Linked DNA regions of Homo sapiens: regions 2 and 3 are each linked to region 1. Evidence: promoter capture Hi-C in 16 types of primary human blood cells and fetal thymus (Javierre and others, 2016). All regions are on one chromosome and are shown on one strand. The core of a region is centred on a gene start or on the middle of the fragment in contact, and the rest is flanking DNA. Distances in the headings are between cores, read along the strand shown.

Region 1 (5,130 bases), core at 659-3,158:
ACTCAAGAAATCTTTGCCCAGACCAATGTCCTGGAACATTTCCCCAATGTTTTCTTGTAGTAGTTTCATAGTTCGAGGTTTTAGATTTAAGTCTTTAATCCATTTCGATTTTATTTTTGTATATGGTGAACAACAGGGTTGAAGTTTCATTCTTCTATATGTGGATATCATGTTTTTCTAGCACCATTTATTGAAGAGACTGTCCTTTTCCCAATATATATACTTAGCACCTTTGTTGAAAATGAGCTCACTGTAGGTGTAGAAATTTATTTCTGGATTTTCTAGTTTACGCAGCACTAAAAAGAATGTACTGTACATGAAGTGATTTCTAGGATATGTTGTTACATGACCATAGAAGAGTTAGAAACGTGCTTTCTTTTAAGTAATAATGGAAAATAAGAAATCTACACATACTGATACGGTTTGGCTGTGTCTCCACCCAAATCTCATCTTGAATTATAGCTCCCATAATTCCCACATATCATGAAAGGGACCTAGTAGGAGGTAATTGAATCATGGGAGTGGGTCTTTCCCATGCTGTTCTCGTGATAGCAAGGACAGATAGAGGAGTGACTTTGAATAGAATGGGAGGCAGGTTTGCCCTAAGCGATTTCCAGCTTGAGATTTCCTTAGTGATTTTGGGGGCCCAAGATATTTTCCTTTCACAATACTAAGCAGTTTAATTTCTCTTAAATGTGGCATTTCCACGTCTAAAGAATATTAATATGAAAACTTTAAAAGTGGGAAGATAGCTTTTCCAGGAGGGCAATTGGCCCTCCATATTGGCCCTTGACAGGGCAGGAGCATCGCCATCTTGGACAAACACTGCCATTTTAAAGTTCGCGTTGATCAAAAACTGCCTAAATCCAAAGGGCATCAGCCTAATGGCTAAGGTCAGCATGACCATAAACCACAAATGACATCTCCAATCAGAAACATTCCAACCATAAGATAAACCCCTCCCTGACCAGAGACATGCCAGCACCGAGATAACCTCCCTTCCATTGGAGAGATGTCAGTCCCAAGATAACTTCCCCTCCAACCAGAGATATTCCAACCCCACAACAGACTTCTCCCCAATACAGAAACATTCTAAGCCTGTGGTAAGCTCTCTCTCCCTAAAGCCAATACATACTCTTAGTCCGTAAGAGAGAGCGCTCCTGACTGCAATCGGCCAGAAGGCCCTCTCGGTTTATTCTCCAAAACGAACCTGTCTTTGACTGTTGAGCCGCTTTTCGTGTTTTTTTTTTTTTTCTCTTTAACTCTTACAGCCCTCTTAAACACTTAAACTGTGGTTGTTTTTCTTGCCAAACCAGTGGTACAACAGTGTCTGGTTGTACCAGGGGCTGGTGCCCCACTCAATGCCTCTCCCAAACCATTTTTCCTGGCCCATTATTTAAGCTCTTAGATTTAGCCTCATACTATTAGCGTCTAGTATATTAGCCTTTCAGCCATCTCCTGACCGCTCCACAGTCACTCCCCGCTAACTCCTTGAAGATTGTATCTCCTTGCTTTGTTCTCTTTCAGTAACACTCCTGTCATCATGGGAGGCGTGTAGACTTCAGGAATTCCTGTCTATTCAATATTTTCTCTCGAGGACGCAGGGAGAGGGAAGGACCACTCTCAGGGCCACAGTCCATATTCCAAACCAGGCGCTTGGGTCTATGGGATTCATTCCTCGTGGGCATTGCAGGAAGTGTAGTCAAAGAGCACCGCGGAGTCCCACGCTTCCCGCCGGAAGGTGATACTATAGAACGTCTCCTTTGAGATTCAAGGAAGTGTAGCGCAGGAGATCTGTTGAATGACGAGCAAGTAGGCTCAGGACGGCGTATCCGGGGAATTCTGGGAAATGTAGTTCACACGCTGCGCGGGGTAGGGGCACTTCCGCTCCCGGGGGGCGAGGTTGCTGCAGTGCATTCGGTGGTAGTTTGGTGTCAGTCCTGTGTCTTGTCGGTCCTTCTAAACGTGTCCCCTTACGATGCTGGCTCGCAACCACCTGGAAGTTGACTAAGGGGAGAAGGAGTCTCGTTGGAAAACGGAGGTTTGGAGGGACAACGGCCTCTCTTTTCGTTCTTGTCAGCGGAGCCTTCTTGGTCTTGGGGCTGTCCTCGCGTCCCCGGGCATGAGGCTGGGGGTTGGGACTTGGTCGGGACGCGTCTCGCCTGGTTTGAGGGTTTTTGGGGCTCTCAGCTCGCTCAGTCCGCCTCCCTCCATCCCACCTGTGAGGCTACTTTCTCACAATTTAGGGTTGGGATGTTATTAATCTCCCTGTACCTCCCACTGCTGTTCTTTAAAATGGGGACTTTAGGACCATCCTAATGAAATCGTTTTGGGAACTGGAAGAGGTAACACAAATGAAAGCCTTAAAGCAGCCCCTCCCTTAGTGACTGGTGGTCTCTTCTTAGTGTTTATTTCCCACGAAGCCTGTCAGGTCCCCGGGTGGGGTCAGAGCTCCATCTGCAGGGATCCCCGCCCTTGTCTCTGATTCCTGCAGGACGCTGGGTGATCCCGGACGCTTCTGACCTCTTTTTAGGAAGGCGAGGGTTGTTTCCATTTCCACGAAGGGAGAGGAACATTTAACTTTTATGCCGGACGGCAATGCGGTCAGGGTGTTTCACAGCTTTCTCCTTCCCCAGCCTGATTCTCAAAAAGAGCTGCAGGGAGGGACTTCTTGGCTACTGAGGGCAAAGTTCCACGAGAGTGGTCCTTGGCTTTTTTTCTTTTACAGAGATGCTCACCCCGACCAAGAGTGTAGGATGTGTCCTCAGGCATGGGTGTTGATAATAATTAAGCCTCAATTGGTAACTTTATCCCAAGAGCTTTATACAAGTAGTCACATTTTCGCCACACCGTGGCTCTGTGGAGAGGTACTACTTTTTTCAGTTTTAAAGATGAGTGAGATACAAAGGAGCAGGAGTTATCTGAGAATAGTCACCTAAGCAGTAAGAGGTGGAGCTGCGGTTGAAACCTGGGCGTTACAGGTCAGAGCCTTAGTTGATAATCTTTTGGATACATTCTCATTGAGGCAGAGGAACTAGCTGGAATCTAGTGGGGAAAGCAAGCTAGGACTTGATTGAAGGGAGCCTTGAGAGCAAGGCTTATGGGCTTGGACTGTTCTGGGAGTTTATCAACTATTTCATTCATTAGAACTATTTCATTTATTACAAATATTTCACTTGTTATGCAGCGGTATGATTGTGGAGCGTTCAGAAATTGGAGAAATACGAGTAGTACAAGTTTATAATTACCCATGAATCCAGCATGTAAAGATAGTAACTGTTAAACTTCGAGTGCATTTTTTTTTTTTTTTTGAGACAGAGTCTCACTGTGTTGCCCAGGCTGGAGTGCAGTGGCACGATCTCGGCTCACTGCTAACTCCGCCTCCCAGGTTCACGCCATTCTCCTGCCTCAGCCTCCTGTGTGAGTAGCTGGGACCACAGGCGCCCGCCACCACGCCCGGCTAATTTTTTTGTAGTTTTAGTAGAGATGAGGTTTCACCGTGTTAGCCAGGATGGTCTTGATCTCCTGACCTCATGATCCACCAGCCTCGGCCTCCCAAAGTGCTGGGATTACAGGCGTGAGCCACCGCACCCGGTGCATTTCTTTTTGGTCTTTCTTTGGCATATTTGCATATTTATTTATAAACATTTAAACAAAATTTTATGATTAAAAAAATGTGTTTTCCCTTATGTGTTTAACTATGGAAATTTGGAAACACTGCCAAGAGGGAAATAGCTAGTGAACTTACATGTTATATCATGCTCATCCTAATTTATCTCATCGTTATCTCATTTTTTTTTTGGTAAATGTTTCCTGATATTGGCCGGGCATGGTGGCTCACGCCTGTAATCCCAGCACTTTGGGAGGCCGAGGTGGGCGGATCACCTGAGGTCGGGAGTTTGAGACCAGCCTGACCATCATGGAGAAACTCCATCTCTACTAAAAATACAAAATTAGCCAGACATGGTGACGCATGCCTGTAATCCCAGCTACTCGGGAGGCTGAGGCAGGAGAATCGCTTGAACCCGGGAGGCGGAGGTTGCAGTGAGCCAAGATTGCACCATTATACTCCAGCCTGGGCAACAAGAGCGAAACTGCATCCTCTGCCTCCCGGTCTCAAAAAAAAAAAATATTTAACGTTTTATTTTCATATCATTTGAAACCTATAGAAAAATTGCAAAAATAGTGTTAGAAATTCTCATATACTCTTTACCCAAATTTGCCAAATGTTTACATTTTTCCTGTTTGCTTTGTTCTTGCTGATCACCCAGATACCACCAGGAACATACCTGTAGCCAGAGACAGTTGCTTGTAGCTTTCTGCAGCAAAGAAGCCCACATTTCAAGATAATTGTGGGGTGTCTTGGTAAGAGGTGTTTAGAAAGGGCTGGTTATAGGGTTTCACATAACATGCTAGATACTATTAGATATTATACTGGCTAGGCATGGTGGCTTATGTCTGTAATTGTAGCACTTTGGGAGGCCGAGGCAGGTGGATCACTTGAGGCCAGGAGTTCAAGACCAGCCTGGCCAACATGGAGAAACCCCATCTCTACTAAAAATACAAAAATTAGCTGATTTGTCCACTGTGAAGTTACTTTTTTAAAATTTGAGGGGGCGTGCGCCTGTAATCCCAGCTATTAGGGAGGCTGACGCATAAGAATCATTTGAACCTGGGAGGCAGAGGCTGCAGTGAGCTGAGATGGCGCCCCTGCACTCTGATCTGGATGACAGAGTGAGACTCTGTCTCAAAAAAATAATTAAATATTATATTAAATAATATTGTTATCTATTACATATCACATCTGTTAAAAAGCTAATAATAGTAGTTGTAGTGTCATTTATTAGATAGTGTTGGATACCATATTACATAACGTTGTTATCTAATCTGCAGCTTCCATATTTAAATTTATTCAGTTTCTTCTTTTGGTCCTTATAACTATCCCTTGCCCCACTTTTTACCTGTAACCCCATTCAAAGTCCAATTTTATGCATTGTCTTTATTGTCACATTTCTATACTTTTGTTTAATCTAGAAGGATTCCACAGCCTTTGTCTTTTATATGCATGGTTTTTTGAAGAGTATAGGCAAGTTGTTTTGCAGAAAGACATTCATTTGGGGTTTGTCTGGT
Region 2 (5,130 bases), core at 1-2,500, 440 kb after region 1:
AGTGGAATGGAATGAAAAGGCATGGAATGAGCCAGGCAGGGTGGCTCATTCCTGTAATCTCAGCACTTTGGGAGGCCAAGGCGGGCAGATCAATTGAGGTCAGGAATTCAAGACCAGCCTGGCCAACATGGTGAAATCCCGTCTCTACCAAAAAATACAAAAATTAGCTGGGTGTGATGGCTCGTGCCTGCAGTCCTAGCTACTCGGGAAGCTGAAGTGGGAGAATCCCTTGAACCTGGGAGGCAGAGGTTGCAGTCATCAGAGATTGAGTCACTGCACTCCAGTCTGGGTGATGGAGCAAGACCCTGTCTCAAAAAAAAAAAGAAAGATGAAAGGAAGGAAGGAAGGAAAGAAAGAAAGAAAGAAAGAAAGAAAGAAAGAAAGAAAGAAAGAAAGAAAGAAAGAAAGAAAAAGGAAGGAAGGAAGAAAGAAAGAGAAGAAAGAAAATAAAAGGCATGGAATACAGTAGAGTGAATGGGAAGAGCTGGGATGGGGGGAAATAGAGTGGAAGGAAATAAAACCCAATGGGATGGAAAGAAAATGGCAGAGTGAAGTGATATAGAAATACAGAAAATGAATAAAGCTAAATGGATAGAAAGGAATTGGGTGGAGTGAAACATGGAATGCAATAAAATGGAGTGCGTTGGAAAGGAATGAAGTAAAACCAACTAGAAAATGACATGATGGAAATGGATAGGATGGAATTGAGAAGATTTTTAAAGGGAAATTTTTCTTCATAGTTCATCCTACAGACTCTTTAGTAGGGAAGAAAAAGCAGATTGGTGACAGATTTCCACCTGTCCAAAGACTCAGTGTGGCATAAACATACCTCATAGATTGACTCCATGTTTTTTGGCACAGTGGAGACCAATCTGAGTGGGGGCATCAGAGGTTTGGGTGGTGGCTTCCAGGGGCTGAAAGAATTGCCTCTACGGCTTGCTGAAGGCAGCTTCGTCTGCAAGTAAGCAGAGAAATTAGGCAGGGCCCACAGACACAGATTGCCAGGAATGTACCAACTTACACTCTTCAGGGACCGAGAGAGTGGAAGGAATCTGTTCAGGTTCTTGCAGAGAATCAGAGGTGGAAGCAGGGTTAGAACCCAGGCCCTTGCCCTGGCCCAGAACTCTCCTTTTTCCTGCTGGATCTGCAACCTCTACTCCCAGCCTCCTTTTCACCCCAGCATGTGCTGGTCCAGTACCACCTCATTGGCAATCCAATTCCAAGCCCTGGAGGTGGAAGGAACGAAAGAGGATCCAGGGTCATGGCATCTGACCCAGCTCTCTGTGAGGCCTTAGGCTACTCTCTTCCCATCCCTGGCCCTGTGATGTGCCATGAAATGTTTAGACAAGATGATCTCTCAGGCTTATCACATATAAAATTTTCAGATTGTCTTTCCTTCATAGATTCTTTAACCAAACCCAGCAGGGCCAATGTACCTCATAGGTCTCCTCTGGAAGGTCTGGTGGTTGCATCTGGGGAAAAACAAAGTTGCAGAGAGGTCATAGGGCTTGGAATAGGGGCTACCCCAAGAGATGCTCAGAAATAGCTTTGGCCTCAGAGGCAATTATAGCACTTCTGATTCCCAGAGGGCTCAAAGCTAGGAATTGTCATGTCAAAGAATAAGAAGACGAGGAGAAGAGATGAAAAAACCCGGGAGGGTCTTGAGATCCTCAGAGAAGTCAGAGGAGGAGATGCAGAGAGACTTAACCTGGCACTGGGTTTTCTCAAAAGATCATGCCAGCCCCCACCCTAAGAAGTAAGACTATAGCAGCCTGGTCAGGGGATCAAGGAGGGTTCCCTCTGCAGCATCACTCACCAGTTCGACTCTGATCCGTCCCTGAAGCTGGGATATATTGCGATACTCAGGACTCAGGCTTTCTAGAAAAAGTGAATCTCAGTCAGGAGCTGGAGTTCGAAAGAGATATGGGGCAAGGGGCTGTTTTTCCAGGACCCCTGACCCCAGGAAGGAAGTGCAGAAATCCTTCCCAGGACTCCCTGTCATATTTCCAGTGAGCTTGACCAGGAATGTCCTGGCAATCAAGGTCTGGGTTAGGTAAGGCTGTTTGGTGACACAGATGAGGGGAGAAATCTAAATTCTAGCCCAGTTTTGACACTGGGTCCTCTGTAGCCTGGATTTAGCCCTTTATCCCTAATGGCCTTGGTTTTCGTCTCTATAAAATGGGGCTGGATTGGACAGTTTCTAGAAAGCCTTCCATATCAAAAGGCCTATCCTTCCAGAATCCCAGACCCAGAGATGGCAAATACGTTTCATTTTGTCTTTGGTTAACTCTAACCCATCAGTAGAGGGCACTCGAGGCACTCTACTGAGATATGTTATGAGGCTGGATTTGGATTCAGCAGGAAGGAGTGTTGTGGTTGATTCATTCTGTCTACAACAATCAGTTAAAAAAGTCTTCTGAGATTGAGAAAGGAGAGAATTCCAGCCTGTTGTCCTGCTTTTGCCGGGACTGTTGGAACAGGCAGAACCCATCAGAGGGCTTGACTCCAATCTCATCCAAATTCCAGATGGGAACACAGAGGCTCAGAGTGGACAGGGCTTGCCCTGATCATACAGTGACCTGGTGGCAAAGCTGGGAGCCCCCAGCACCAGCCTCTTCCCCAGCCCTCACCCCTGCCCCAGGCATCAGCCACCATAGAGTCACTTACCGGAACTGGGCTCTGTGGGGTGCTCCTCCTTCGGGATGGGTTGTGAGGTCTCATGACTGGGGTCCTCTGTTGTTTTCCTTGAGGGCCTGAAACCCCAAAGCCCTCATTATTCTGTGCCTCTAGTCCTTGCCCATCTCCACAGGTTCTGCCCATATCCCATGTCCATTCTTGAACAATGCCCACAACCCTCTGAATTCCCCAGGTGCCAGACAAGACTCAGCACCATGGTCAGCAACACGCCCGGCAAGCGCCCCCTGCTGGCCACATCCCCATCCCCATCCCCCTCCCTGTATCCCTGTGTTACCGTCTGGCATTTCTGATGCAGAGAAAATAGCCCAGTTCTGAGGCCACAGCAATGACAGCCAGGATCCCGATGACAATACCAGCGATGGCCCCTGAGGACAGGGAGGAGGACTGGGGACCTGGGCAAGGAGACAGAATCAAGACCCAGGCTTGACACACCCTCATCCCTGCTCCCAGCCCGTTCCCAAGCTTGCAGCTTTTTCTCTACTGACATTTTGTGAGCACTTGTTTTCCAGTCGTTGGGAGGTATCAGATTGTGGTTTTTGGTTTTGCTTTTTTTTTTTTTTTTTTCAGACAGGGTCTTGCTCTGTCACCCAGACTGGAGTGGAGTGGCGTGACCTCAGCTCACTGCAACCTCCAGGTTCAAGTGATCCTCCCACCTCAGCCTCCCCTAGTAGCTGGGACTACAAGTACCTGCCACCATGCAGGCTGATTTTTTGTATTCTTTGGTAGAGAGGGGGTGTTTCACCATGTTGGCCAGGCTGGTCTGGACCTCCTGACCTCAAGTGATCCGCCCACCTCAGCCTCCCAAAGTGCTGGGATTATAGGTGTAAGCCACTGCACCTGACCTCAGTCTGTGGTATTAACAGCATCATTTCTAAACTAAAACATCCAGTTTCTGCGTCCAAATTTCAGCAGTGTGACTTTGGGCATGCTACTTAACCTCTCTAGGCTTCAGTTGTCTCTTTTGTAAAATGGGAACAATAGGGTTTATAGGGCTTCTAGAAAGATTAAACATACATGTATTCATTTTCTATATATATAGTGTTTGTTTGGAACCATGGAAAGTGATCAGTAAATGTTGGCCATGATGACAATGTCAGTTAGGATAATGGATCAAATATGGCTTTGTGTTTCTTTCCTCCCAGAATAGAGGCACAGACCAGAGAAAAGAGCTTTGGCAACCAGAAACCCGGCTTTCACTTAGAGCCCCTTGACTCACTGCGGCCATGTGACCCTGGACAAGTGAATTCATTTCTGAGTCTCATTTCTTCATCTGTAAATAGCACAGGATGTTTGCAAAGATGAGATGAAATCATGAATGTTAACACCTGGCACATACTAGGTGATTAATAAATGGCAATTGTTTTCATCAATATTGGCCTGCCGATTGCCCATCTCACTTCTGCCTGAACCTCTCTCAAAAGGGTGGAATCGAGCCACTGAGTTAAGAACACAGCTACAAGGATCAGGAGGGTGAGGAAGGAGCTCTGCTTTGGAGGGGCAGGAGGGAACTTCCTGGGGTGCTTCAGGGATTCTTAGGTTCATTTCTGCATCTCCACTTTTTTTTTTTTTGAGATGGAGTCTCACTCTGTTGCCCAGGCTGGAGTGCAATAGTGTGATCTCAGCTCACTGCAACCTCCACCTCCCTGGTTCAAGCAATTCTTCTGCTTCACCCTCCCAAGTAGCTGGAATTACAGGTGTGCACTGCCATGCCTGGCTAATTTGTGTGTGTGTGTGTATTTTTAGTAGAGATGGGGTTTCGCCATGTTGGCCAGGCTGGTCTCAAACTCCTGACCTCAGGTGATCCACCCTCCTCGACCTCCCAAACTGCTCAGATTACAGGCATGAGCCACCATGCCTGGCCGCATCTCCATTTCTTTATATGCCAAGCAAGGATAAGAATTCCAAACTCTATAGACTTTTTAAAATTTTTTTTAAATTTTTAAATTTTAAAATTTAAGGCCAGGCTGGAGTGCAGTGGCACGATCTTGGCTCACTGCAACCTCTCCCTCCTCTGCAACCACTGCAACCTCGCTGCCTCCCAAGTGATTCTCCTGTCTCAGCCTCCCGAGTAGTGTGATTACAGGTACCCACCACCACGCCTGGCTAATTTTTGTATTTTTAGTAGAGATTGGGTTTCACCATGTTGCCCCGGCTGGTCTTCAACTCCTGACCATATGTGATCCACCTGCCTCAACCTCCCAAAGTGCTGGGATTACAGACTTGAGCCACAGTGCCCGGCCTCTATAGACTTTTGAAGGGATTAATGAGATCTTGTATAAAACTACTAGCACAGTGCCTGATACATACCAGATGCTTGACAAATGATGATGATGATGATGATGATGATGATGATGATGATAGAAGCTGCTATCTAGCAAGCTCTAAGCACCAAGAGACCTTCATACATGATCTTATTCAAATCCTACAATATCC
Region 3 (5,130 bases), core at 1,839-4,338, 270 kb after region 1:
AGGAGCCAGCTTAAAGAGGCCAAACTTGGGACAATTTTAACATCTAAAAAATTACAGTAATAAACTATAAACCTTTAAAAAATTTCACAAATCCCTACAAATAACATTGAAATGATGCTTGAGAAGTGGGGGGCTCTTGTTGACTGCAAGTTTATGCCAGGTGCTGACTGCTAAATGGGAAGGAGGTAAAGTTAGAAAAGTCATCATTTTGTAACTGTCATGGTAAGGACCAGATAAGGCAAGATCATCAGCAGGTGCTTAATCTACAGGAAAATACTTGTGTTACCCGATGATTACAAATGGGGAAAAAAGCAGTAATTATATAGTGGGGAAACTGCATAACATCGTGACTGGGTAATCAAAGTTAACACCACCTTTGAGGGACAGATGACTTCACGTGCCTCCAGATGTGATTCCCTCAAAAGTGCACACTCTACCTACATAGTGTTCCTGCTGCATGGATCATCTGAATCTAATTTTGTGGAATCATTAGGAATGTTCTATTAAAAATAAGGGAAGAGGTGATAGCGTTCTTCAAAAATGTTACTGTCATAAAAGAGAAAGAAATGCTGTGGAAATGTTCTAAATTAAAGAAGGCTAAAGAGACAGAACAACTATACTAGACTCTAGATCCTGTTCTGGAGGGAGAAAAATATGCTTTAAAGAATAAAATTAGGCTGGTCGTGGTGACTCATGCCTGTAATCCCAGCACTTTGGGAGGCTGAGGCAGGTGGATCACCTGAGGCCAGGAGTTTGAGACCAGTGTGGCCAACATGGTGAAACCTCATCTCTAATAAAAATATAAAAATTAGCTGGGCATGGTGGTAGTTGCCTGTAATCTCAGCTACAGGTGGCTGAGGCACGAGAATCACTTGAATCTGGGAGGCAGAGGATTCAGTGAGCTGAGGTTGCACCACTGCACTCCAGCCTGGGCAACAGAGTGAGACTCTGTCTCAAAAGAAAAAATATATATATAAAATTGGCTTTATGGATAAAATCACAGCATAAATGATAGATAAGATAAAAACATTATATCTGTCCTGAGAACAGGTAAGAGAATATTCCTCTTTTTATAAAACAGACTGTGCAGTAAAGGAAAGAGTTAGTTTTGTTTAAAGAGAGATCTGGATTTTGCCTTTGGCTTCTGGAGAAGGTAATCGCTAAGTCCCTGGAATATACTGCCCGATTAGAGTGTCTTTCGTTTACCCAGAAGCCTTGGGCCACACACCAGATAGTTAAACAATGTGATTTATAGTAGGGGCTTTGAGCCATGTGGTATTAGCTTAACCTCTGGAGAAACTGGAATCTAAGAGCAGCCACCCAGGTGGTCAATCATATCTAGGTAACTAAGCTCCAGTAAAAACTCTGGACACCAAGGCTCAAATGAGCCTCTCTGGCTGGCAATGCTCCTTACGTATTGTCATACTTCACTGCTGGGAAGTCAGTGCTGTCCACAACTCCACGGAAGATGACAAGTGGAAGCTGACATCTGGAACGCTCCTGGACTCTGCCTCCTGGGCCTCTTCCCTAGGCTGACTTTAATCTGATTCCTTTCCCTGTAATGAATCATTAACTGTGAAGACAACTGCTTTCAGTGAGTTCTGTGAGTCCTTCTAGTGAATTATTGAGCCTGAGTGTGGGGCTCAGTACTCTTGGGTCTTGGGGACTCCTAATCTTGCAATTGGTATCAGAGGTGAGAGTGAACTTGGGGACTCCTGAACTCTGTATATACACTGAAGTATTTAGAGAAAAACGGCCATGGTATATTAACTTACCCTCAAGTCGTTCAGAAAAAGATATTATGACTATATATATTTTTTCATATACATACATAAGTATGTATGGAGAGGGAAAGAACATGAACATAAATGATAGAGCAAATAGGGTAAAATGTTATTAGAGGTGAATCCAGGTAGAATCTTGGCGAATCTATATGGGTGTTCTTGTCCTTTTGTAAGTTTTCTGTGAGTTTAAAGTTATTTACAAATATAATGTTTTTTTAAAAAAACCCCTCTAAAAAGTCAAGTTCATCAACAGTTACTGGTGCCCTGAAAAATAAACTTACTAACCTGGAACAACTTACTAAACTGTTTGATGGCAAATCAATGAAGCAGGACCATATTTACTATTCCAAGGATAGACTGGACAAAACCATCAGAAACATCTTGTCTGTGTTGCACGGGGATTATTAGGACTCTCGGGCACCTAATCTCAGAGAATAATTTCAGGGGCTTCAGAGTTTCTAACAATTGAGCACACAAAGACACCCCAGGAGGCTGCCATTGAGTAACTAAGGGCACCTATCCTCACCTACTAAGAGCAGGTTCCTGAAGTTCTCCAGCATCACATCTCGGTACAGCTTCCTCTGGACAGAGTCCAGCAGCCCCAGCTCCTCCTCAGTGAAGACCACAGCAACATCCTTGAATGTCACCATCTCCTACAATGCCAAACACATGCACACTAAGTTTACAGAAGAAGGGCAGTGCTGAGAAGGTGTAAAGGACTGGAAGCTGTTCTGGAGTCTGGGCAACTTGAGTCACATTTACATAGTTCTCTTCTGTTTACCTTCTGTAATGCTAATACCATTCACCAAAAGGGCTGCAAGAAAAGAAATCCTTGCACTTTGAAATTACTTCCTTTTGTTAGCACTTATAAGTAAGCCTCTGGAACTCTGTTGCACCCTAGGTTACCAATATTTTAAATTGTAATAATAATGTCATTTGCTCCACAAAAGCTTTAGTTCTAACAGTGACTGATGCTACCTGTTTCTCCTCATTTACACACACACACATCACTTATTTAATTTGTCAAATTTACAGGGTATCAGTCATCCTTACTGCTCAAATATGTAGCTCATCCTCTGTGCTCATCTGGAGACTGCTGCAGTGATGGGCACAGCTCTGGAGCCTGACTGCCTGTGTCTGGATCTGGGCGCTCTGCCCAATGCTAGCTCTATGATCTTGGACAAGTTTCCTATCTTCTCATTTGTATGGTGAAACTTATACCATACAGTCCTAGTAATAAAATGAGTGACCACATGTAAAGCATGGAAAACAGCACCTGGCACACAGTAAGTACCCAACAAATGTTAGCTACATTATTAATATTTTCATTATATCTTCTATCCCATTTCTGGGCTGCAAAGTAATTCAGAGAACTAATGGTCTAGAATATAATAATTTGATCCAACTAATGCACACTTAGTTTGAGGTTACCTATACGAACAATGTTGCAAAAACAATCTTTTGCATTGACGTTAACCTCTGGAATTCTGTTGATTATCTCCTCAAAATAAATACCAAAAAGTAACAATGGCAATGCTGAAGAATAATGACCTTTAAAGTTCTGAAATCATAATGGCAGGTGTTTTCCCAAAACAGACTTTCGCCTTCCATCTTAGCCTTCTTCCAAGAAAGTATAAATCATAGTCAACACTGGATATGAAAGCTTTTTAAAAAAATCTTTCATAATCTCACAAGTAAATTTGGGAAGTAAAAATCATTTATTAAAAACATTCTCACAAACTTATTGGTAATAAAGTTCATTCTCTTTACACACATTTGCTGTTCATCTCGATTTCTTGTTTTGTAATAATAATTCATTTGGAGGACACCGAGGTCTTTTCTTCCATGGACATTGTAAATATTTTTCATTCCACTTTGCTGTCTTGTAACTTTTTGCTGTAGGGTAATTTTAAATTTTTAAATGAACAACTGTTCAGTCCCATATTTCTTCTGGCTGCAGTTCTGAGCATAACAGCTTCAGCTCTGAATGCAGAACTCTGCTTTGGTTTGCTTTGCTTTTTTGTAAGTCTTTCCACGCAAGTGATATGCCTGAAACTCTTGGCCCAGAAAGCAAAGGCTTTAGAGTTGGCCCAATGCTTATCTTCCTGTATGAACATGAACCTCTTAACAGTGCAAACGACTCTACAGTTCCCCTCCAACAGTCATCTGGGGCCATGAATAGTGTGACAGATGCAAAGTGCCTATATATCCTATGGTATGACTAAAAACTTTAAACTAAGTACCTGTATTACTCTAATAAAATTAATACATGAATAATGAAACACACACAGACATACAAACATATATAGATAAACACATAGCTATAGGTACTGAGAAGAATCTAGCTCTTCTTATATAAGAATCTAGCTCTTCTTGTACAAAAACATCTATTTTTCCCCCAACCTTAGCTTCAATATAATCTTGTTAGACAAAATCATATTTTATGTATTCCACCTGAGACATCACTTAGGAGAAAATATTTTTAGTTTTGAGTCTCTAGAACATTATGGACAAATAATATCAAAATTCTCTCACACTGGTTTTTGAGTCAAGATTATTTGTAGGAAAACTGATACTGCAATGTAAAACTGCAAGAATCCTCAGGAACGTAAAAGCTTGTGAGTTGGAAATAATTTAAAGAAAAGGGCCGGGCACGGTGGCTCACGCCTGTAATCCCAGCACTTTGGGAGGCTGAGGCACGTAGATCACGAGGTCAGGAGTTCAAGACCAGCCTGGCCAAGATGGTGAAACCCCATCTCTACTAAAAATACAAAAAAATAGCTCGGTGTGGTGGCAGGCACCTGTAATCCCAGCTACTCGGGAGGCTGAGGCAGAGAATTGCTGGAATCCAGGAGGTGGAGGGTGCAGTGAGCCGAGATCATGCCACTGCATTCCAGCCTGGGCAACAGAGCGAGACTCCATCTCAAAAAAAAAAAAGAAAAAGAAAAAGAAAAGGGGGAGAGGGATAACAACAGTTTACGTCAATAATATTAGATGATAAAAATTAACTGCTAAAAATTAAGCGGATAAAAATTCAAAATTGTTATGTATTAATGCAAGAACAGTTATATTTAAAAAAATGACCATGGACAAAAACAGATTTGTAAGCAGGGTAATAAGGTGTAGGATTTTAAAATTTCTATTCTTCTTTGTACTATTATTTATGAAATAAATAATAAAACACATTTACAACTAAAAGGAAATTTTAGAAAAGGACAAAAACAAAAAGCAAGAGCCTGATACATAAATGATACTAAATGCCTGTTGTCATTCTTTACCCTTGGCAAAGAAGGGGGAAAAAGATATGTCCACTCACTGCAAAATGAGGTCACATGTAAAACGGCAT

What was found. The method cuts DNA at HindIII sites, captures the fragments that hold promoters and counts their contacts. A CHiCAGO score of 5 or more calls a contact.
Region 2: a fragment that was not itself captured here is called in contact with the fragment with the promoter of ZNF284 in region 1 in 1 of 17 cell types (neutrophils); the score reaches 5.7 in neutrophils.
Region 3: a contact is called between a fragment that was not itself captured here and the fragment with the promoter of ZNF284 in region 1, in 1 of 17 cell types (naive CD8 T cells). The highest score is 5.2, in naive CD8 T cells.

Annotation. Positions count from the first base shown.
Region 1 is chr19:44,070,251-44,075,380 of GRCh38, forward strand. ZNF284 (zinc finger protein 284) reads left to right here and starts at 1,909. Exons shown (of 5, transcript NM_001037813.4): 1 at 1,909-2,041. The HindIII fragment of the contact is 12,821 bases long and covers 1-5,130 here.
Region 2 is chr19:44,510,201-44,515,330 of GRCh38, forward strand. CEACAM20 (CEA cell adhesion molecule 20) reads right to left here. Exons shown (of 12, transcript NM_001102597.3): 7 at 2,972-3,089; 8 at 2,668-2,753; 9 at 1,817-1,878; 10 at 1,437-1,472; 11 at 830-955. Among named protein-coding and RNA genes, the nearest start is that of ZNF180, 12 kb to the left of the region's middle. The HindIII fragment of the contact is 3,813 bases long and covers 1-3,157 here.
Region 3 is chr19:44,338,106-44,343,235 of GRCh38, forward strand. ZNF112 (zinc finger protein 112) reads right to left here. Exons shown (of 4, transcript NM_013380.4): 2 at 2,311-2,437. The coding sequence starts at 2,434. Among named protein-coding and RNA genes, the nearest start is that of ZNF112, 16 kb to the right of the region's middle. The HindIII fragment of the contact is 713 bases long and covers 2,733-3,445 here.